Regions from separate parts of the Homo sapiens genome. Here regions 1, 2, 4, 5, 6 and 7 are each linked to region 3. Evidence: promoter capture Hi-C in human tissues and cell types (Jung and others, 2019). All regions are on one chromosome and are shown on one strand. The core of a region is centred on a gene start or on the middle of the fragment in contact, and the rest is flanking DNA. Distances in the headings are between cores, read along the strand shown.

Region 1 (3,466 bases), core at 391-2,890, 340 kb before region 3:
AATTATTTTTTCATGAGAACATATGGACAGTTTGTGTATTTTTTTCATTTAAAACTGCAAACAAAAAGTAGGTCCAGAGTTCTCATAAAACAACCAGAGCTCTAGCATTGACTTTATAACTGAATTGGTGTGTTTTCCTTTAAGAAGAAAGCAATTAATAAAGAAAAAGAAAACTCATGGATAATGATAAGGTAAATGTTTTCATACCTACAGTACAGCCCTATAGAATCAAGGGAATTGAAAAATGGGTCATCATTCTTTATCTTGAAGAGATTTAGTTCACTGACTTTAGGGGTATGTAGAAATTTATACATACAGAAATTCTGAGAGACTGAATTGTAGCCTAAGAAAATGGCTTAATTATTGTGATACTAAATAACTCTACACTCATAAAAGGCCTAAAGCAGTTGCCATATTGTTCTTGCCCATTTCTCTGCAAGCTTAAGCTTTACATGATTTCAGTCTGAAGACAAAACTGATTAAATGTTTATCTTGTTATTCTCAAGCTTCTTAATCTTTAATCTCATCTAGATTTAAGTCCTTAAGCCAGTTTAGTAGTTACAAAGATTCTGGAGATAGAACTGAAAGACTATTAGGCTGAAAAAGAAATTATACTTAAGGAAAAACCTCATAAGAATTGAAATTCTATGATAAAAAAATGAAGGCAATACCAACCGTACACTACCAAGAAAAGGTTGATAAGATACAATTCTTAGCATGTTGGGAAGTAAAATAGACTTGTGAATAAAAACATACACTGCTGTGCTTGATTTGCACCCCTTGAACCCTCTCGGATGCTAACTAGCAATGTGACATTGCCCATTTTATGTAACCTCTCTGAGTCGAAAGCTTTATTTTCTATGAATTAGGATAAATAATACATACCTCAAAGTATTGCTGAGAATATTTAATGGCACCTGGTTTCTGATTTATGATAAGCAATGGAGGTAATAAATGGCAGAATTTCCTCCACCCAAACACTGCACAAAATGAAATACGTGTCAGATATGTATTACAACATACAAGATAATTTTTAAAAATTTTCTTTGATTCAAAATAAAAATGTTATGTGTCCTCCGTAAGGTGATAAACCTAAATCAAAATTAACTGTACACACTTAGTGTAGGCCTCTAGCTTAAATTATGTATGCTGGACTGTATCATTAAAGGAAAATATTTTTAAGAACATAAAGCATTTAGTGGTATTCCATAATACGTTACAAACTGCATTTTTCATGCAAACCATTAGTCTGCATATGATAAGCAAATGCATTTTCAAGAAAGACTAAAACTTGTGAAGTTAAATTTTTAATGTAACCCTGGTCTTCTATTAAAATTTGTTTATGGAATAAATGGGAGAGCTCCCAAGTTATCTGTGTCATGCTGGTTGTGCCTGATTTTATTCTACTTCTTTTATAGTAACTTTAGAAAACTTTGTTTTATATAATTATTTTTCTTTTTTGCAGAAGATGTTTTTATATAATAATTTTACACAATTACATCCTTGTGAACAGATCTTGTGTCACACTACTCGATTGTCTTTGATTTATTCTGGAAAAGAGATAGGGAATGTATAAACTCCTGCAGACTGCCACTTTGCTTTCCTATAGCTTAAAAAAATCACATCCATAAAGTAGTATTCATGAAATGTTCACCCTTCATAAGGCAAGAAGAAATAAGAATTGGAATATTATGTGGATATCTATGCTTTTATCAAAAGGGGCTGACCTTCCTCTGCAGTAACATATTATGCAAATGAAAAGAATTATTAGAAAATAACATAACAAGTAGCACAAGAAATCTCAGCTGCACTCATGGCACATGTTAATTTCATTGGCAATATAATCCAAAAATCAGATGGTTTAGGGCCTCACTGTCTAGGCTTTGGACTCAGACCAACCTTGGTTTGAATCCCGGATCTGCTCATCACTACATTTGGGACTACAGACTACTTATTTAACCTTTCTAAGCGTCAGGTGCCTCATCTGAAAAATGAATGGTCCCTATTTGAAGAATTGTGATAACTACAATTCTTAGCATATTGTATTCTACAAACTTAGCATATTGCTATTCTACAAACTTAGCATATTGTATTCTACAAACTTAGCATATTGTATTCTACAAACTTAGCATATGCTATTCTACAAACAGTGTATTGTTCTGGACATGTTGATAAACATTAGGTAACATTATATTATATGTGTGATGGGAGATGGGGGAAAAGAGAAAGGGTAGGAGATAGGGTGGGGTAGTAGTGGTGCTAGAATATTCTATTATGTTTTTCTGTTTTTCAGTCTTGCTTTAAAAAATTAATTATAGGGAATCAACTTTTTCATAATATGCCTTTTTCAGGTATTGAAAAGAAAGCCATTAAATGAAATATGGCTTATTTTGGCTTATCTTGACGCCCACAATTTTGCCATTTTATTACCAATTACTAAGTAGTCTCCTTCTCTCCTAATAGATACATTTCTAAATTTGGCACTAATTCACTTAGTAGATTTGGCAGGAGAAATTATTTGTTAATGTCAAATCTAAGAAACAGGCTTCCTCTCTTAGCTTTGTACTGACCATAAGTGCAATATTGGTAACATCTTCAATATTATATATATAATATTGGAGGTTTGGGAGTCCCCAAAATAATATTCTTTTTCTCCACCTGGACTTGAAGCAAATTGGGAAAGAAAGTAAACAAGGTGGCAAAACAAAACAAACTTTCCATCGATGATAAAGCTGAGATTAGAGTTAGAGTTTATATATGCAGCATTATTGAGCTTCCTAACTGCATTGGAGTTAGTCTTGCTTCTCCTATCTCTGAATACCACCTCCTTCCCCAAACCACAAAATAGCACTGTGAGCCTGGAACCCATTGCCACTGAAGGGGCTGAGTGTGTCTTATAGCACAGCATGTGTTCTTTAGACAGCTCACTCCTAACAAAAAAGAGAGGAGGGACCTGGCCACTTTCTCTTAGATTCCTGTTAGGTCTGGTAGGTCTCTCTTCCACCCCAGAGAAGGGATGATGGAGTGGCTGGGGAGAAACCAGTAGTGTTATGCTAATGTATGTCTCTCTAAATGTTAAAGAACTGTTAGGAAAAAAGAATTAAATGTATCTCACTAGAATACCTCACTTTAACCCTTGATTATGCTATTATCCCATTTAGACTGTTATTTCCCAACGAGTGCCTATTGCCCTCAGGGATGGGATGTAGAACAACAAGCTAAACGGACAGCTACTCTCATGTTTCCTCGTTTATGCTCCTAATGCCAACTACTACTCTTCTGGGTGTTCTCTTAGGGGAACATATAATGGAAAATACTTGGCCACCCAAAAATGATTTAAATCATTATGTGATTGATCTACATTAGATCAACTGCAAGATCACTCTGTACCTAAAGCTAAAGTACACTGTCTGCTCTATTTCCTATCCCAACTGATGTCTATTCACATTTTCCATTATATCTTATA
Region 2 (3,415 bases), core at 715-3,214, 380 kb before region 3:
AACCACTCAACTGCATGGAAACTGAACAACCTGCTCCTGAATGACTACTGGGTACATAATGAAATGAAGGCAGAAATAAAGATGTTCTTTGAAACCAACGAGAACAAAGACACAACATACCAGAATCTCTGGGACACATTCAAAGCAGTGTGTAGAAGGAAATTTATAGCATTAAATGCCAGCAAGAGAAAGCAGGAAAGATCTAAAATTGACACCCTAACATCACAATTAAAAGAACTAGAGAAGCAAGAGCAAACACATTCAAAAGCTAGCAGAAGGCAAGAAATAACTAAGATCAGAGCAGAACTGAAGGAGATAGAGACACAAAAAACCCTTCAAAAAAATCAATGAATCCAGGAGCTGGATTTTTGAAAAGATCAACAAAATTGATAGACTGCTAGCAAGACTAGTAAAGAAGAAAAGAGAGAAGAATCAAATAGATGCAATAAAAAAATGATAAAGGGGTTATCAACACCGATCCCACAGAAATATAAACTAACATCAGAGAATACTATAAACACCTCTATGCAAATAAACTAGAAAATCTAGAAGAAATGGATAAATTCCTTGACACATACACCCTCCCAAAACTAAACCAGGAAGAAGTTGAATCCCTGAATAGACCAATAACAGGCTCTGAAATTGAGGCAATAATTAATAGCTTACCAACCAAAAAAAGTCTAGGACCAGATGGATTCACAGCCAAATTCTACCAGAGGTACAAGGAGGAGCTGGTACCATTCCTTCTGAAACTATTCCAATCAATAGAGACAGGAGATGTGTTAGTCTTTTTTAAAATACAACTTGCAACTCTATGCCATTTAAATAGGGCTTTTAGACTGTTTAAGTTCAAGGTTATTTTGATATGTGAAGTTTTGATTCTATCACTATATCATTAGTTGGTCACTTTGTAGTTTCTATTTGCTTTGTAGTTTCTGGTTGCTTTTTTAGAGTCTGTGGGCTATGTAATTGACATGTTTTTGTGGTAACAAGTTTTGTTCCTTTGTGTTCATGTCTAGAACTCCCTAAATGTGCCTTACAAGGCAGGTCTAGTGGTAACAAATTCCCTTAGCACTTGCTTGTCTGGAAAACATTTTATTTCTTCTTCACTTATGAAGGCAGGGTATAAAATTGTTGGTTGGAATTTCTTTTCTTTAATAATGCTGAAAATAGGCCACCAATCTCTGCTGTCTTGTAAGGTTTCTGTTGAGAAGTTCACTGTTAACCTGAAGAGGTTCCTATTGTATGTGATCTGACCTTTTTCTCTAGCTGTCTTTAAGTTTTTTCATTAGCATTGACCTTGGATAGTCTGGTGACTATATGCCTTGGTGATATTCATTTTGTAAAGTATCTTGTGGGTCTTCTCTGGATTTCTTGTATCTGGATGTTCCCTCTTTAGCAAGACTAGGGAAATTTAATTGAATTATTTCCTCAACTATATCTTTTTGGTTGTTTATTTTTTCTCCTCTCTCAAGAATGCCAATAATTTGGAGGTTTGATTGCTTTATATAATCTTATACTCCTTGAAGATTTTTAAAAATTATTTTCTCTTTATTTTTGTCTGACTGGGTTAGTTCAAAAGATTGTTCTTCAAACTTGAAATTCTCTCTTCTGCTTAATCCAGTCTATTGATAAAAATCTCAATTGTATTTTGGCAGTTTTAAGTGAGTTTTTCAATATCAGAAGCTTGGCTGACTTATTTTTTAAGATGTTTATCTGTTCCTTCATTTCCTGGATTGATTTAGAAGTTTCTTTGTGTTGATTTTCAACTTTGTACTGGATCTCATTGAGCTTCCTTGCAATCCATGCTTTGAGTTATTTATCTGTCATTTCTGAATTTCCATTTTGATTATGGACCATTGGTGGAGAGATAATGAGAGGCTTTGGTAGTGTCACTACATTCAGTTTTTTCAAGAAAATCTTGTGTGGGTTCCTTCTCATCTGGAGACACTGGCATTTCTACTTTCTATTATTTTTGTATGAGTAGGACTATTTTATTTTCCTATTATATTATTGGGTTTTTTTTTTTTCCCCTTTCCCACCTCCCTTGTGAATGTGACTGTAGAGAATGCTTCTGTAGACATACACACTTTTTTCAGCAGGTTTCATAATGGGCTGTGTCATTCAACCTACAAGCCAGTAGATGGCACTTATGGGTAAGAGTCAGCTATGGCCAACATGCCTGTTACTGGGTGTGTATTAATACTTAATCCTTGTTTACCAGGAGATATTCTCTGTTGCCTCAGACATTGGGCTGATCTATGGAGTACACAGTGGCCTGAGTACCCTGCTCAGCCCAGAATGTACAGGGGCAAGATGGGCAGGGTCATACCAGGCAGGACCACTACAAGTATTCTGGTTGCGGGCACATGCACCAGCACTGGGGGAGAATCCATTGGGTAACTAACAAGTGTTCAGAGATGTGCCTAGGTGTGGAACTAGGAAACCTCCTTAGCCTCAAGCTCTCTGCAAGGGGATGGGTGCTGCCTAAACTACTAATTCAGAAGAGTGGGTGCCTGAAGATCTGCTTGGGCATGGAGTGTAGAGGGTCCCACTGAACAATCTCCTCACAGAAATGCAGTGGTGGCTCAGGGTGCTAATTCAGGCAAACAAATGTTCCTATTGCCTGGAGACCTGCCTGGGCATGGGGTAGAGAGAGCCCCACTGCACCACAGTCTCTACATAGAAAGGGTGGGCTGGCTTAGGGTACTGGTGCAGATATATGGGCGCTCTGAGTGCCTGGAGATCTGACTGGGTCAAAAGCAAAGAGGGCCCCCATGCACCCAGATCACTGCACAAGAAGGGTAGGGTAACAGAAGCTGCCAATCTGGGCAACTCGGTGCTCTGAATGCCTGGGCATAGAGTGGAGAGGGCCCCACTGCACCACAGTCTCTGCACAGGAAGGGTGGGGTGGTTCAGGTTGCTGATCCAGGTGAGTGTGTGCTCCAAATGCCTGGAGATCTGCCTTTATCAAGCAGATGTATTCGCAGGGGCTGTTTCCCCACATTCTTCTCCCTTTAATCTGGAATGTAGTTCATGGTTCCAGTGGATTCTGTTTTCTTTGTTGAACTAAAGCTCACAGAGTTGATCTTCATGCACTATCTTGCTATTTCCAAATGGCTAAGGCACACTAAAAGCCTCTTATACACCATCTTAGGGGGAAAAAAACCTAATGCTCAAAAATACCTACTTTTTATAAAGTTTGGCCCTTACATACTATTCAGCTACTTCTTTTAGTGCTCAGATAATAAATCAGTGATGAATTTTCCAGCAGGATTTTCAGAAGAATTGTCAGGCAAGGTGGTGCCTAGCATAGCTCAGGTTCCCCTAACATTTAGTGGACTCATGTGACAAGGCTCCTGCACAAACTCTCTCCCTAGAGTTGCCCAAGTTTCCTTCATGTTCCCATGGAGCC
Region 3 (3,697 bases), core at 887-3,386:
CCTCCCATCACCCCCGCGCCTTTTATACATCACACTTCTGCATCTAAAGAATTCAGGCTCTTAGAATCAGAATCCTCTTCACGTAGCTTGCACCCAGAAGAGCAAAGAGAACTAGACATTCTGGCTGCAGGAACCTCTCCCCCTAGTGATGCAGTTATTTATAGCCCAAACTCCAGCCCGAGTCTGCGTGTGTTCGCGCGCGGGGTTTCGCCGCGGCGGTGCAAACTTTTCCTCTGGTCCGCTATTCCAGAGGAATCACAGTATGCCAGGGCTGAAGGTTTCTGATCGCTAACGTCAGGGGAGTAGAAATGTGGTTTTGGAGGGGATGAGCGTGCGTTTCTAGCAGATGTCCGTCCTTCTGCAAACGCGTAACCGCCAGCTTGGAGGCACGGGGTTCTCTGAATGGGTTCAGCATCTATACAGGTTGCAGATGTGGAAAGTGGGGTCAGAAGGTCAGGCTGAAAGAAGGACTAGAATTTGGCGCCGGGTTTGAGGGGGGCTTGAGCGAACTAAGAGGAGTGCACGATGAGAATAAAGAAAAGGTGCACTAAGTTTTCAGAAATAGATGAATCAAGGACCTATATGTAAGTCCCCTCAACACCCCGCCCGATAACCACCATGACCTAAATTTCATAACAGATTCCTCTCCCTCTACACATCAGGAATAAGTAATTATTTCTCTTCTGCTTTTAACAGATCGAAAAATGAAACTTAGATACACAGCCTGAAAGACCAGGGGGGCGACGGGATGAGGGGGGTTGGGGATGGGATTGTGACACTGCTCAAAAGCAAGAGACTTCCATTGACAGGGTTTATTTTTCCCCAGCTCCAACTACAGGCACCGAAAGGTATTTTACCTTCTGTCAAAGGTTCAAAGAAGGAAAACATAACCATATACAGGCGTATCTGTAACAGCTTGCCAAATAAAACCTGCCTTCTCCTACCAGAACCAACCCTCAGGGTTCAGGTCTTTGGCAAGGATTGGGCACTCGGATTCCTCAATTGCTGCACTATGGGGCAAATAATTGGGGACTTTGAGTCGCCCAGGCGGCATCCTTACAAATTGCACAGCTCCAGCCCGCCCCCTGCCTCCACGGCCCGACCAAGCCCGCTGGGCTGCCGCTGCCCCCATGACCGCTGGGCCCGACGCGCAGCGCGCGCTGAATGGAGACATCCCCGGCCCTCGGGTCGCGCGCCGCACGCCGCGCTTCACCTCCGCGGCGTTATTGTTCCGTGCTGGCGGCCGAGCGCCAACCGCAGGACCGCGCCGCCGCCTCCGACGCAGTGAGCACTTCATTAGTAACCCGAGCTTTCCGAGCTCATCGAAGTCTCGGTCCCTCTGGGAAGGCTCCGGGCTCCCGCCACTCGCCGGCGGGCTGGCGGAGACGGTAGGGGCTGCATTTCCCAGTCTCCAACCCAACTCTGGCCGCAGCTCCCACAGAAGGCGAATAAGGAGACAAGGAAGACCGAGCTAGAGAGAGATGTGACCCGCCTGAGGTACTAAGAAATAAGCTCGCCGGCAGTTCCTCCAACCCCACCCCACCCCCGTTGCTGCTCACGCCCTCCAGACTGCCCGCGCCAGAAATCCCGCACCCGTCGGATGGACGGCTCCGGGCACAGGGCTGTAGGCGGCTCGGAACAGCCCTGGTTCGCGCTCGCTGGTCCGCCAGGAGCGGCCTCAGCGGTGAGGGGGCGGGGAGCCGGCGGGGGAGGGTCGCCCGGCGCCGGAGGCGCGGCCGGCAGCGCCGCGGACGAGCTGGCTTGTGCAGGTAGACATCTAAATAAATAAGTCAGAACAAACTTTGCTTTCCCATCACCTTACCTTCCTTCGCAGCCTGCGCCTCCCCTGTGTGTGCAAAGCGGAGCAGCCAGATGTAGCATAAAATAATCCATGAAGGGTACCGAGTTTGAAAAACCATGGTGCATGAGCAGGTTTTATTTTAGGTTTCAGTTATCTTGAGTCGTGGATTTTTAAATGCTGTTTGTTCCGAAGTAGCTTTTGTTTTATTGTGCTCCTTGCATCGATTCCCCTTCTCGGTCCCCGATCGGCTGCTCCACGTTTAGCTTTTTTTAATTTCCCCCCCACTCCTGTTCGCTCGCACCGTGTTTGCTGCCTGCAAGTCTCCGACTGCAGACCGGCCGCTTGCTCCACACTCCAATAATATCAATTAGGGGGGGAGGGGGCGGGGCTCCGAGCTGAGAGCCTCCGCCACTCGGGCTGAGTGGCAGGCACAGCCGGCCTGCCAGGAGGCGATTCCCAGGGCCAAGGGGCGGGTCCCGGCGAAATGGCCGCCCCGGCCACGGGGGCGGGGTCCGAGGCAGGAGCCAATCGGTGCCGAGCGGAGTCAGGTTGCTGGTCCAGGATTCCCTCCAGGTTCTGAGCTCGCGCTGGATGTTCAGAGGAGAACGAGGATGGTAGCCGAGGTGTGTGCTGCTTTGGACGCTCTGCTTTTAGCAACCGCAGCTTTCGCGTAGCAGAATAAATCCGAGAATAACGCTCCCAACTTACACTCTTTTCTATAGCTGTACTCCGCGCGATCTTTTAGAAACCAGAGGCGAAGCAAGCCTTCTCTCAGCTACCAAGCACGGAGCCCGGACAGTGAAATGAGCTGTGCCTTTAAGTAAAGTGTGTTTTACTTTTTTGTTGTTAGAACCTCCGCGGGCTGGGTAACTTTGTTTTTTGCCTTTTTGAAAAGTTTCTACTTCTCTTTTTCTGTTACTCCAAGAGCCGTCAGTTTTAGGTACCACCCACCACAATCCCTGAAAGAATAAAGTAACCAAGTGTATTATGTTTAAACAATGTTTCCAAGAGTTTGCAACAAGCTCTGGCAAAAGAAACAGAGGAAAAGGGAGTGGGAAAGGAAGTCTTTTGTTTTAAGCGCCCCTTCTCCTCCGCCCTGTCTTTTCACCATAGTTTGTTGAGCGAAGTGAGACATTAGGAGAGAACCTTCTGATGGTTGCGTATCGTTTTTTTACGCGTTTATCATTTTCTAAGGTTTTCCTTGGATTGCCTCCACTTTGATAGTTTTCCATTTCGCTGCATAAATTACACTGAATTTTAAAGAATGCCACTACGTATTAAATTCATAAAGCAAGACCTTTCTCTTCGCAAGTATTTACCATTTTCAGGAATTATTCAATGCTTATCTTTCAAAGAGAAACTAAGAATAAAAAAAGTCATAACCAATATCTCCAGTTGAATTCATTCAACCCGAACGGCAAGGAAGGCTGCGTAGAGAAATCTGTTTTCCATTAGGCAGTTTCGGACACTTTGTATTCAAGAGGTAGGTAATAAGAGGAAGAACTTTAAAATTTTAATTGCCAAATCTTCAATTTCAAAGGTCACACAGAGTAACTTGATCACATGTTTAAGATGAATTTCTTTTTTTGTCCTATAATTTCTTCCTTTAAAAATATTTCTCAGTCATTTATGATTTCCTTTTATTTCCGATAGATCCAAAGTTTGATCTCACATAAGGCTCCAAACTTTTTCCAACCTTTCTATCTGGAAATATAAAGTAAATTGAGTTGTTTCTGCTTTTTATAGTAGGGAGTTCTCTAAGATGACAACCCCCAGATATTTATTTGTATTTTATGTTAAATTGTCTCCTGTAGTTTTTATTTGCCTAATAAAATAACATGGAAGAGAGATATGAAATTTATTCTTTAAACCTCTTTGATTCTGTAGTTTCTGAAA
Region 4 (3,231 bases), core at 484-2,983, 440 kb after region 3:
TAACACAAAAGTCATTCAGAAGTTGATTGTTTAATTTCCATGGATTTGTATAGTTTCGAGGGTTCCTTTTGGAATTGGTTTCTAGTTTTATTCTGCTGTTTGAGAAGATATGTGATATAATTTCAATTTTTAGAAATATATTGGGACATATTTTGTGGGCTCTCATATGGTCTATCTTAGATACTGTTTTATCTGCTGGTGAGAAGAATGTATCTTCTACAGTTCTTAGGTAGAATGTTCTGTAAATATTAGGTCTATTTCTTCTAGAGTGCAATTTAAATTCAGTATTTCCTTGTTGACTTTCTGCCTCAATGATCCGTCTAGTTTGTCAGTGGAGTGTTAAATTACCTCACTATTACTGTGTTGCTATCTGTATTCTTAGGTTTAGTAGTAAGTGCTTTATGAATCTGAGAGCTCCAGAGTTGGGTGGATATATATATAGGATTGTTATATTTTCTTGTTCACTTCATCCTTTTATCATTATATGACTTTGTCTTTTTAAAAAACTGTTGTTTCTTGAAAGTCTGTTTTATCTAATGTAAGAATAGTTACTACTTTCTATTTGTATGAAATATCTTTTTCTACCCCTTAATCTTGAGTCTATAAGAATACTTACATTAGGTGTATCTCCTGAAGAAAGAAGATATCTAGTTTGTGATATTTTTATCCATTTATCCATCTGTATCTTTTAAGTGGATCATAGAGACCATTCATATTCAATGCTAATATTGAGATGTGAGGTACTCTTCCAGTCATTGTCTTGTTACTAGTGAGTTTGTTTTCTGCATTGTGTTATTGTTTTATAAGCACTGTGAATTTTTGTGCTTTCAGGCATTTCTATTCTGGTGTGTATTGACCTTTAGTTTCAAGATTTAGAGTTCCTTTTAACATTTATTATAAGGCTGGTCTAGTATTGACAAATTTCCTCAGCATTTGCATGTCTGAGAAATACTTTATTTCTCTTTCACTTATGTTTTGTTGTATAGAAAATTCTTGACTGACAGTTATTCTGTTTAAGGAGACTGAAGATAGGACTTCAATCCCTTTGGTCTGTAAGGATTCTGCTGAGGAGTTTGCTGTTAGTCTGATAGGTTTTCTTTATAGGTTACCCGATGTCTTTTTATCACTGCTCTTTAAATTCTCTCCTTCATGTTGACCTTAGATAGCCTGATAACTATATATGCATTGATGACGTCCTTTTTACTATGCATCTCCAAAGAGTTCTTTAGCTTCTCATATTTGGATGTTTTAATCTCTAGCAAGGCCAGAGAAATTTCTCTCAATTATTCTCTCAAATGGGTTTTCCAAACTTTTTGCTTTTTCTTTTGGCATGTTTTCTTTTCCTTGAAGAAAATCTATAATTCTTAGGTTAACCATTTTACATATTCCATATTTCTTGGAGACTTCATTCATTTCTTTTAAGCCTTTCTTCTTTTTGTCTTATTGGGTTAGTTTGAAAGCCTTTTCTTCAAGCTCTAAAATCTTTCTTCTACTTGGTCTAGCTTATTGTTAAAATCTTCTACCGCATTTTGTAGTTTCCTAAATGCATTTCTCATATCCACAAGTTTGGTTTGGTTTCTCATTAAATTATCTATCAGAAGATTTTTAATTCATATCCTGAGTTTTTAAGAAATATTATATATGTTGGTTTTCACCTTTCTCTTGTACGTCTTTGACATAACTAGGACATACAAGAGAAAGGTTGGTTGTGAAATCAACCTTTTGAATTATTTGATATTTAAAGATTTCATCTTGGATGTGATCCACTGCTGGAGAGTTATTGTAATATTTTGGGGGTGTTATAGATCTGTGTTTTTTTGTATTGCCAGAATTATTTTTCTGGTTCTTTCTCATCTGAGTGGACTATTTGCTATGGTTTGGCTGTGTCCCCACCCAAATTTCATCACAAATTGTAGTTTCCATAATCCCCACATGTTGTGAGAGGGACCTGGTGGGAGGTAATTGAATCATGGGGGTGGTTACCCCCATACAGCTTTTCTCGTGTTAGTGAAGAGTTTTCAGGATATCTGATAATTTTATAAGGGGTTTCTCCCTTTTTGTTTGACATTTCTCCTTCCTGTCATTAAGTGAAGAAGGATGTGTTTGCTTCCCCTTCCACCATGATTGTAAGTTTCCTGAGGCCTCCCCAGCCATGCTAAACTGTAAGTCTATTAAAACTTTTTCTTTTATAAATTATCCAGTCTTGGGTATGTCTTTATTAGCAGCGTGAGAAGAAACAAATACACTCTCTCTTATAATTATTTATTCATTCGTTCATTCATTCATTAGTCCTTTAGTTCTTTAGTGGTGATTTCTGAGATTTTGGTGCACCCATCATATTTTTTATTCAATTGGGTTTTTATTTTTTCCCATGAGGTTGTGACTTTATAGTTTATTATCATCTAGTTTCGCCTCTAGTTTCTTTCAGTGGTAATGACTCTATATGAGTTCCTTGGTTACAGAGAATTTTTGTATAATGACTTTCTCAGATGCTGGTTGTAGTAGTGATGTGCTGGGTATGTTAGCAGGTTCACTGTCTTCTCTGGGGAATTTTTCCTCTGGTTCCCTCTGTAGGCTGCTGTTAACTGCTTCTTTCAAAGGGTCTGTGGTTTCTTTCCTATTTTCCTGTTACATTCCTGTATAATTTCTTGGAAAAACATTCACAATGTGGATCTCTACACAAGATTTCATCTTTCCAAGTAGGAGAGACATGCTAACAATGCCTCCAATCTGCCCTCTTCGAAAAAAAGCTTGGTTTGTGTTTCTGATGATATTTTTGAATAATACTTTTAATAAATATTATTGTGGATGATGCACAGGATCCCCTTAGAGAATAAAGGAACTCATTCCTAAAGCTTTTTAGAATGTGCATACTGACAGCATACACATAATCTTTTGCTGGGAATTGCCCTTGGCCAAAATGAACTGCCTCACCTGGGGTCTCACACTTTCTCAAGGAACAGGTCATATAATATGACTGGTTGATGATGAGTACAAAGGCTTGCTCCCCTACTTTAACTGAGGACATCTCTGAAGGGCTGTTTTAGCTCCAGAGTCCCCAGTGTTGGAACTATCCATATACTCAATTATTCTTCCTTCATTTCTTTACACATGCGGTTCCCCAGAGGACACCCTAATAAATCTCTAAGTGTCAATTTCCAAATTTCTTATTAAAAAACACTTTTATATAAAAAGACACTTGGGCTAACATATGATACTTACTAATAACTT
Region 5 (3,349 bases), core at 279-2,778, 310 kb before region 3:
TATTACCTATGATTGTATAATACTGAATGGGGACAGCTGACGATGGACTCCTTCTCTATACCAGTGCATTCTCCCTGTTCCTTTAACTCCTACATTATAACAGAGCACAGGAATAGCTAGCAAGTGAAGAAAAGTTACAGAGGAAGGAAAAGAAGAGCAGTCTTGATACTAGCATAAACGAGAAGAAAAAGAAGACTTCAAAGCAGAGAGTGGCTGGTATAGAACCTTTCTTAATGTTTTTAATATATGTTACTCACTCTGATTTTAAACTTTCATGTCCCCTACTGAATTTAGCATTTAATTATATACCATCTTCTTTTTATTCCTTCTCTATTCAACAAGATTGACTTCTTGAAATCAGAATATCTATTCATTCACTTCTACCTATCTCAAATTAAATATCTTCTATCAAAATACTTATTGATTTATTGATGAGGTACCTGGAAATAATGGAGGTAAAAATTTACTAAATGAACAAGGGGGGAGTGTGACTAGTGTTAGAGCACAGGAATTGGAGACTAGTGATGTATAGCTAATGACACAGTTGAGTCAGTGTCAACCCTGGACTATAATAAAAAGAATCAGATAACATAATTCCATGCACGAAGTAAGTATTCAACAAATGTTTATTAATTAATATATTAATAAATTAAACTCAAACAACTGTTCACTCTTAATTAAGCCCATGCTCACTAATACCAATATCCATTTTAGAGTCATTCTAAAAATGAAATCACTCCTTTTGTTTTTTCCAGTCTCTTGTTTTGGCCATATAAAAAAGCTTCATACAAAGCAGTTGGAAAACATGTGATCCCTGTTAAGCTTGGCAACAGCATTACATCAAAAGCCATTAGTAGCAATAAAAAATTTTTAATTGTTGTTATATATTGGCAGAAGCTGAAAGTTCATAAAAGTACGTGAAAATAATAATTAAAAATACTGTGAGACCAGAACCAGAACATAGAATTGTCTTAGTTGCATTTTGGAATATTCACCATAACTTAGCGTTTCCTAAAGAACACTGGGCCACAATTATCAGTTATCACCATGTGCCAGAGATACAGTTATGGATTCAAATTAAAATAGTAAGAGACATGGGATTAAATGGGAAATCTAGCAGTAACCACAGACATTTCATTGTATCTTTCATATTTGCTGAACATTAGGTCATTTCACCTTTTTTATTTTATTTATTTTATTTTTTGAGACGGAGTTTCACTCTGGTTGCCCATGCTGGAGTGCAACGGCGCAATCTTGCCTCACTGCAACTTCTGCCTCACAAGTTCAAGCGATTCTCCTGCCTTAGCCTCCCAAGTAGCTGGGATTACAGGCATCCACCACCATGCCTGGCTACTTTTTTTGTATTTTTAGTAGAGATGGGGTTTCACCACGGTGGCCCAGCTGGTCTCGAACTCCTGACCTCAGGTGATCAATCCGCCCACCCTGACCTCCCGAAGTGCTGGGATTACAGGCGTGAGCCACCATACCCAGCTTCATTTCACCTTTTTTAAAAGAAAAGTATTATAAATGTTTTGCAGCTGCATTTCTCTCAGCAAACAATGTGGCTAAGTTTTATAGAATTAGTGAAACAGAAGCTGTAACAGTCTTCATCCACATTGACCACTTACTATCTAGAAAATCTTCCTAATCACCATTGTTGTGTCCCTTACCTCATCGTCATGCTCAGATTGACCCGTCTCTATCTCATTGATGGATCTGCTTACGTATTCATTTTAAATTATTTGTGCAAATAGTACACATAGAGATATTCTTCATCTTCTACAATTTCATGCCAGAGGCTTTGGTAAGAATTTATTCTACTTTTTAAACAGCCAATGTCCACCACTAGAAAGTGGCATTCCTTCTATTATGACACAAGATCACTACTTTCTCCAAGTTCTGTGTGGCTTTTTGAGTATTTACTACCAGGCAACATTAAAAATGCATCTTTAATGTTATAGCAAAATGTGAAGCATTGTGAAGTGATTGCTTTCTCCATATTTCCTATTCCAAATAACATCCTAATTCTACATGAGCTGGGTGCGGGAAGTCTGACATCACACATTTTCAGACATTAGTCCTGCCTCCTCAGATTGTACACCACAGTTGTTTGTAATGGAATAACAACCACAACATTTATAAATCACTTTGCAGTTTACAATGCATATTGACATATATGCCATTCACACGAAAACAGATTAGTAATGTTCAGCTGAGTTCAGGATTCTGAAATAATCATTTATCACAAGTATAAAACGATTATGGAACAACTCAGATTTTAAAACAAGGAATAAATGGGGCGCATTGTGCAGCTATGCACTAACTCACCTGATCTGGGCCAGATTTCCATATTTTTATAGGTGGTCCCTTGGCATACCTCATGGATATGTTCTTAATTGGATGTTCCCATCAGAATTACCTGTAAAGCATATACAAATACAGAATCTTGGGCTCAACACCAGCTCTCTAGAGTTATGTTCTGTGTGCAGATAAGAGAGGATTGATTTCCCAATTTGGTACATTTTTACAAAGCTTAATTAGTTGATTCTGAGGCACATATTTGATGGTGGAATTTTGCACTTGCAACGTTTTATTTTATGGAAACAAACACTTTTTATATTTAAAAAAATGTAAGCCTAGGGCAAACTAGTTGACATCTATTCTTTAGAAGTAGCTGATAAATAACAGGAAATAGACTGAATTCAACAGCATGGTGAAACTAGCCATGGGATAGAATGAACTTATTTGCTATTTTTATTAGTGATACCTGTTTCAGTCTTGATATTAAATACTTTTATAAAAGTACATAAGCCTCAATCAATCACATTTACTGGCTAATTTTGACTTTCTCAGTCCCTCCTTTCTTTGCATTCTTTTTAAGTATTTTTTTATTGAACCTGAAATATGAGAAGGAGAGAGAGAGAGAGACATTCAGAACTTTCCGATAAGAATTACCCTAAAAAACCTCTAATGTGTAGTCGTTTGGAGAAGTCTTATCCCGTCCTTGAGTGACTTAATAAATGCTTTTTCCCTCTAAATATTGATATCATTCAAGGTGAATGAATGTGACCATGCTTATCTATTTCAAGCCCTATATATATTTAGTTTTACTGTAAACATTAGTAGATATTGTAGCTGTATATGATGATACTCCTTGTTTTTCATTGGAATAGTAGAATTCACATACATACAAATAATGAACTGGCTGCTAAATCCAAAATATTTTTGATTTGCAAAACCCTTAGACAGGAAGGTCTTAAAAATTTATAAAACAATTATCTCATTGAGACAGCAATTCCTTTGGTTGCCCAGGCTGGAGTGCAGTGACGCAATCATGGCTCACTGCAGC
Region 6 (3,279 bases), core at 315-2,814, 440 kb before region 3:
TTTTTGTTTTTTGTGTCTTTAAGGTGAAGGTTGCTAGAACTTATCCAAAATTTGCACTCCTATAGCTGGTGAATTCCCTGATATGTAAACTGTATGTGAGGGATTTATAAATACACTGAGGGATTTGTAAGCTTAGCATCGAAATGTTGTCCCTTTTGATCAAATTTAGGCCTGAGAGCATGAGATCGTCATCCTTCCCAGTGAGCTCTGGGAAGGTCTCCAAATTAGCAATGGTGCCTTCAAAATCATGGAACTGCCTCACCTACAGGATATTTAAGAAATAAACTTCAAAGGTGATGCTAACACTCAGAAGGTGAGTAGATTCCAGTTCTATGTAAGACTAATGTAGAAAATTCTTTAGACTGCATCCACTTCTGGGAAACATGGGATGGTGACGCTCAAAGATAGTGTCCCAATAAGAATGTACAGTGAGCTAAATGGTTAGTTAGAAAAACAAAATAAATTTAACAGGATTCTTATCCCTTTCTCCAACTCCAATTTGTATAGTGGTTTATGGTGTTTTCACAAGTAATTTGCCCAAAGTGCAAAGCTAATAAAAATGAAGCTAGAATTTATTTCTACATCACTGTGATTCTAAATACAAAATTTACACCATGCTGTGTCATCTCTCACAATTTAAGTGATAAAAATAGTTTTGATACAAATATTTATATAAAATCATAAATTGCTTTCTATTTGGTTTGATGAAATACGTAATTGGTTCATATTGTCTTTTTATATGTATTTTTTCCCTTTATATTTTTCTTAACAAAATGCATGAATCATATTTGCCTTTTTCAAACATATTGAAAATATAAATCTACCTAGTCTTTTTGGGCCTATAAAGTTGATGAAAAAAAGAATAAAACAAATATTAATTTCATTTACTTTTCTAGCTCTTTATTTACTAATGGGATGTTGCATTACTAGTAAATTGATATGACTGTTTTTTTAATATCAAATGCACTCACATACAGTATGACACTATATGTCGAACCTATCTTATTGAACAAAGAGAATAGGGTGAAGGATTTTCCCAGAAAGAGAGCATGAAATAAAACGGATGGTGTGGGGAGGACTTTTAGTGATCTTCTAGTCCTGTTATCCCAAATATTTGAAACTGCCTCTTTTGGAATTTCCTCCTGACGAAAGAATATTCATCTCACCCTATTGATGTGGCCAATGAAATATGAGAGAAAGTGGAATGTGCCACTTCCCTTCAGAAACTTTGAGAATGATTGGTTAACCCACTATTCCACTAGCCCATATCAAAGATAAAGGATGCTCCATTATTCTGCACTCTGGAGTAAAGAGCTAAACTGACCCATGGTGGACAAATAGCATGGGTAAGAGTTACGTGGTTGTTATTAAGCCACTCAGATTTGGGGTGTCATTTATTACCACAGCCTGATTTAGCTAAGCTGATTATATAGAAAGTAGAACCCAAAAGTGTAATGCTTCCCCAACAAAAAATAAAAAATATTGGCTTTAGGGTGTCAGATAGTGGACAGTGAGAAAACTGTTAATGAAGGTTGGAAATATACTGACCTATGTTTGCAGTAGCAAAACAATTGATGAACCTATCATCTGTTATATCTTAGCAGATAATGTACATTTTGGCTTTGATTGTAGAAGGGGGAAAATAGGATTTTAATAGCAGCATGAGTTGGTTGCATTTGACAAGGTACTACAAAATGAAATGCACACAGAATAAACTTGGGCAGGCTGCAGACATGCTTGGAAGGCAATTGAGAAAGTCCTGAAATTCCAGGATGTGTAAGGCTAGAAGATGCAAATGATATCATTTCCAATAAGTAAAGCGTTTAACTAAGAAGGCCTTTGATAAACTATGGCTGATTATAACTTAGTTTCCCTAAAATTGGAAAACAAATCAAGGTATGTTTACAACTCCCTTTTTTAGAAAGGGACAAAATAAATGTTTTTTTAAAACTCTCTGAATCTAGAAACTAATATTTTTCAGTTGGTTCAAATAACTCCAAAAAGACACTAAAAGTATAACTATTGTGAGAAGACTGATAGACTCAAACCAGCAGAAAATACATCGAGAGAGAGAAAGACTGAGAGACTTGTTTTACTAAAAAATGTGGATTTGGATTATTCAAATAGAGAGTTGATTGTAACCAAATAGATAAAAAACTGACTCGTGATGATGAGCATTTTCTCATGTGTTTTTTGGCTGCATAAATGTCTTCTTTTGAGAAATGTCTGTTCATGTCCTTCGCCCACTTTTTGATGGGTTTCTTTGTTTTTTTCTTGTAAATTTGTTTGAGTTCATTGTAGATTCTGGATATTAGCCCTTTGTCAGATGAGTAGGTTGCGAAAATTTTCTCCCATTTTGTAGGTTGCCTGTTCACTCTGACGGTAGTTTCTTCTGCTGTGCAGAAGCTCTTTAGTTTAATTAGATCCCATTTATCAATTTTGGCTTTTGTTGCCATTGCTTTTCGTGTTTTAGACATGAAGTCCTTGCCCATGCCTATGTCCTGAATGGTAATGCCTAGGTTTTCTTCTAGGGTTTTTATGGTTTTAGGTCTAACGTTTAAGTCTTTAATCTATCTTGAATTGATTTTTGTATAAGGTGTAAGGAAGGGATCCAGTTTCAGCTTTCTACATATGGCTAGCCAGTTTTCCCAGCACCATTTATTAAATAGGGAATCCTTTCCCCATTGCTTGTTTTTCTCAGGTTTGTCAAAGATCAGATAGTTGTAGATATGCGGCGTTATTTCTGAGGGCTCTGTTCTGTTCCATTGATCTATATCTCTGTTTTGGTACCAGTGCCATTAGAGAAATGCAAATCAAAACCACAATGAGATACCATCTCACACCAGTTAGAATGGCAATCATTAAAAAGTCAGGAAACAACAGGTGCTGGAGAGGACGTGGAGAAATAGGAACACTTTTACACTGTTGATGGGACTGTAAACTAGTTCAACCATTGTGGAAGTCAGTGTGGCGATTCCTCAGGGATCTAGAACTGGAAATACCATTTGACCCAGCCATCCCATTACTGGGTATATACCCAAAGGACTATAAATCATGCTGCTATAAAGACACATGCACACGTATGTTTATTGCGGCATTATTCACAATAGCAAAGACTTGGAACCAACCCCAATGTCCAACAATGATAGACTGGATTAAGAAAATGTGGCACATATACACCATGGAATACTATGCAGCCATAAAAAATGATGAGTTCATGTCCTTTGTAGGGACATGGATGAAATTGGAAAACATCATTCTCAGTAAACTATCGCAAGA
Region 7 (3,206 bases), core at 197-2,696, 290 kb before region 3:
AATATTTTCAAGATTTGAACGCTAATTTGATGTAGGATGTAAGAGGAAATAAATTGTTTAGTCTAAGGCTCAGTTTTTTAACTGGTATACTGAGTAAAAAATGAGGCTGTGGACCAACATAGACATTTCAGGTAGGGAAGCAAGTTTGATACAAAAGAAGATGAATTCAGTCATGTAAATGTATTATTTTTGAGTACTTTTAGATCATCCAGTTGGAGATAGTCACAAATAGTTGGCTGTGTAGGTTTGGCTTTGAAGATTAAGATTTTGTAATTATCATCATAGAGGGGATAGTTGAAGTTATGGAATTGAATTAGTATCCTCAAGAAAAGAATGCAAAATAGTTTCTCTAAGTTAAATGCGGCAAAGTCTCAGTAAAGTCAAAGAGATATAAGCCAGATATTAATAGGTTCAAAATTAACCAGACAATGAGAAAAATGGAGATAGAAAGATTAGACCTTGGATGGAAGGTCAGAAAAAGGGTCAGGATAAGGGTTGAAATTTTGTCATTGTTGTTGTTCTTTTTAATGGTGATGGTGATGGTTCTTACTTTGCTTACTGTTATCATTTAAAGTAAAAACAATATCAGATTATTTATAAGGTTGGAGAAAGGGGCAAATACAGAATGAGATGTCAAAAACTGGGAAGATAGGGATACCTCACAAATGAAAGAAAACTGATGGGAAACTAAGTCAAAATGCAGGTGGAGGTCTGAGTCTTGAATGGGAAATTAAAAATTTCTTCATCTGAGGCTGGAAGAGAAAAGAGGGAGGCAATAGACGAAGAATGTTAGCTACGGAGGTAATAAATTGATACAGTTCAAATCACATATCTTTATTTTTCTTGGAACTATTGGAGGCAAATTTATATGCTGAAAGGTGCTAGAGTTGTTATATAATAAACTGATTATATAATAGAACATTAATTATATAAAACATAATTAGCAAGAGTCAAGGAAGTCACAACCCCATGGCATAAGTAATTTATCAAATGAAAGAGCAACCTCTGGTAATATGTACCTTCCAACTGAAGAAGGATTAGAGGGAGACCTCTTGAACTCAGAAGTATTTCAAATTTCCCACTATCTGACAATTAGTTTTAATTTTGTAGTGCAGGGAGTTTGAGATAATGAAGACAGAAATTGAAAACTACTTTTGGTCAATAAAGTATTGAAAAACGGTATATAAATGATGTGAGTTACTTTCTCTTTTGGGGGATACTTCACATTTGAATTCTCAGTAATTAAAAAAATATATATATAGGGAGGGGGGAGGGATAGCATTAGGAGATATAACTAATGCTAAATGACGAGTTAACAGGTGCAGCACACCAGCATGGCACATGTATACATATGTAACTAACCTGCACATTGTGCACATGTACCCTAAAACTTAAAGTATAATAATAAATATATATTTTATATATATACATATAGAGAGAGAGAGAGAGTGTGAGAGAGAGAGAGAGAGAGAGAGAGAGAGAGAGATAACCAAATACAGATAAATAGGTTTCTCACTCTGCCATATCCATATTACATTTCTCTAGGATCTTTTTTTTTTTTTTTTGAGATGCTCTAGTGTCTAGTATTAGAACCCTTAATCTAAGACTATTTATTATATTTTTTTCTGTAGAATGTATTCCAGAATATGCTACTCATTGGAAACGGTGATAGAAATTTGAAATTGCTCTGAGTTCATAATGAAGAATGACCAACATCTATTATTCATCAAATGAAATTCTCCACTAAACAAAATCCTGACCTTTGTGAAAGTGCTTCTTTAACTTTGTAACTAATGCAATAACCACATGACCTTTGGTGCTCAAAAACCCTTGAGTGGCTCTCTACAACTTCTGCAGATTCTTAAGAGTTGGGTACATGAAATAGCTATTTCTAGGTAAAGTCAACCAGGCCAGTGTGAAAATAAGGTTTGATAAATTATTTCTTCCAGTATTAGAGTTTAAATATGAATTTCTAGGATCTTCCTGATTTTCACCATTGTAGCAAATTTATATGCTTGTGTTAATTTGTGAGAATTTTAATCTGTACATTATCAATATGTAATTAAATTCTACTTGGTTGAATTAAATCTGTTAGATAATTTGGGACAGACATCAAATTTGAATGGCATTTTTACTAAGTTGATAGTTGTTTTACTGACATGGCTGGCATTGGATACAAACAAAATCTCCCTAGTGACTGTAAGATAATTTTTAATACATTGTACTTCATTTTGTGTCAAGCCAAATCTTATTTAACTAGCTATTGCATATCTAGTGACAACAGCAGGCATCATTTGAATTCAAAATCCAACATTGTCCCACACATGAAATACTTTATCCTTTACCTTTAACATAACTGTAGACTTTGGATCAAAACAAAACGTGCATATATGTAAAAATATTACAAATTTTTTTGTAAAGACTTTTTTAAGTAACTGAATAAATCACATAGAGCCAAAAAGAACTCTTTTACTGGAATTATTTGGTGAGTATACACAAATATGAAAATTTTATAAGAATTGAGACAAATTGGTTTTATATGCTTTCAGAGTAAATTTAGGAATAATACATGACTGACTCAAACTTGGTCATTGATGGCATACATCCTGAAGTTTAATTATTGTTATCATTTGGCTAGTCATAGAAGTTTTTTTTATGGTTTAACATTAGAATGTATGTGTGTTTATGTGTACATATATATATGTATGTATGTATATGTATACTTTCTTTGTTCCCATCTGCTACAGATTTCATTACACTACTCTTACCAAATAAAGAATCATATCAGCATGTATTACTTTACGAGTAGAGTCTCAATTTCTTCAAGACATATACTGAGAAAGAAAGGCAACTTAACAACAGGTATGTTGTACTCATTGTTTAGGATCACTTTAAAGCAAATCATTTCCTTGTCAACTCTTCTTTCTAGCACCTAAGTCATATCTGCAAATAGCTTCCATGATAACCATTTGCTTACATGTCCACTTGAAGAAAAATGCAAAACATTTTCCAGTTGCTTATTGGGAGACCCCAAAGTAGAAAGCAGAAGTATTTCTTTATCAAACTAGCCTGACTCCTATCTTTCCCATTAAAAAGACTTTTTAGGAATCCTATTTTTGTCCCTAATCAAATACTCAAGAAGTGGCCCTTCAGACATGTGCACGTACTTCCTTCCCTTGCTAAAACTTTCTCGCTAAAGCCATGAG

What was found. Contacts are between HindIII fragments. The study calls those that stand out against the background at their distance.
Region 1: a contact is called between a fragment that was not itself captured here and the fragment with the promoter of EPHA7 in region 3, in 2 of the 25 tissues and cell types used here (mesenchymal stem cells and mesendoderm cells).
Region 2: a fragment that was not itself captured here is called in contact with the fragment with the promoter of EPHA7 in region 3 in 1 of the 25 tissues and cell types used here (mesenchymal stem cells).
Region 4: a contact is called between a fragment that was not itself captured here and the fragment with the promoter of EPHA7 in region 3, in 1 of the 25 tissues and cell types used here (dorsolateral prefrontal cortex).
Region 5: a fragment that was not itself captured here is called in contact with the fragment with the promoter of EPHA7 in region 3 in 1 of the 25 tissues and cell types used here (mesendoderm cells).
Region 6: a contact is called between a fragment that was not itself captured here and the fragment with the promoter of EPHA7 in region 3, in 1 of the 25 tissues and cell types used here (mesenchymal stem cells).
Region 7: a contact is called between a fragment that was not itself captured here and the fragment with the promoter of EPHA7 in region 3, in 3 of the 25 tissues and cell types used here (H1 embryonic stem cells, heart right ventricle and mesendoderm cells).

The regions. Positions count from the first base shown.
Region 1 is chr6:93,076,277-93,079,742 of GRCh38, forward strand. No RefSeq gene overlaps it. Among named protein-coding and RNA genes, the nearest start is that of EPHA7, 340 kb to the right of the region's middle. The HindIII fragment of the contact is 7,607 bases long and covers 1-3,466 here.
Region 2 is chr6:93,034,858-93,038,272 of GRCh38, forward strand. No RefSeq gene overlaps it. Among named protein-coding and RNA genes, the nearest start is that of LINC02531, 310 kb to the left of the region's middle. The HindIII fragment of the contact is 8,389 bases long and covers 1-3,415 here.
Region 3 is chr6:93,417,423-93,421,119 of GRCh38, forward strand. It overlaps EPHA7 (EPH receptor A7), which reads right to left and starts at 2,137. Exons shown (of 17, transcript NM_004440.4): 1 at 1,823-2,137. The coding sequence starts at 1,919. RefSeq lists a silencer at 2,185-2,384. The HindIII fragment of the contact is 11,378 bases long and covers 1-3,697 here.
Region 4 is chr6:93,854,270-93,857,500 of GRCh38, forward strand. No RefSeq gene overlaps it. Among named protein-coding and RNA genes, the nearest start is that of TSG1, 150 kb to the left of the region's middle. RefSeq lists an enhancer at 1-228. The HindIII fragment of the contact is 3,274 bases long and covers 97-3,231 here.
Region 5 is chr6:93,109,863-93,113,211 of GRCh38, forward strand. No RefSeq gene overlaps it. Among named protein-coding and RNA genes, the nearest start is that of EPHA7, 310 kb to the right of the region's middle. The HindIII fragment of the contact is 3,561 bases long and covers 1-3,309 here.
Region 6 is chr6:92,981,085-92,984,363 of GRCh38, forward strand. It overlaps LOC105377897 (a long non-coding RNA gene), which reads left to right. Exons shown (of 5, transcript XR_942787.2): 3 at 170-313. Among named protein-coding and RNA genes, the nearest start is that of LINC02531, 260 kb to the left of the region's middle. The HindIII fragment of the contact is 6,274 bases long and covers 1-3,279 here.
Region 7 is chr6:93,129,351-93,132,556 of GRCh38, forward strand. No RefSeq gene overlaps it. Among named protein-coding and RNA genes, the nearest start is that of EPHA7, 290 kb to the right of the region's middle. The HindIII fragment of the contact is 5,337 bases long and covers 1-3,206 here.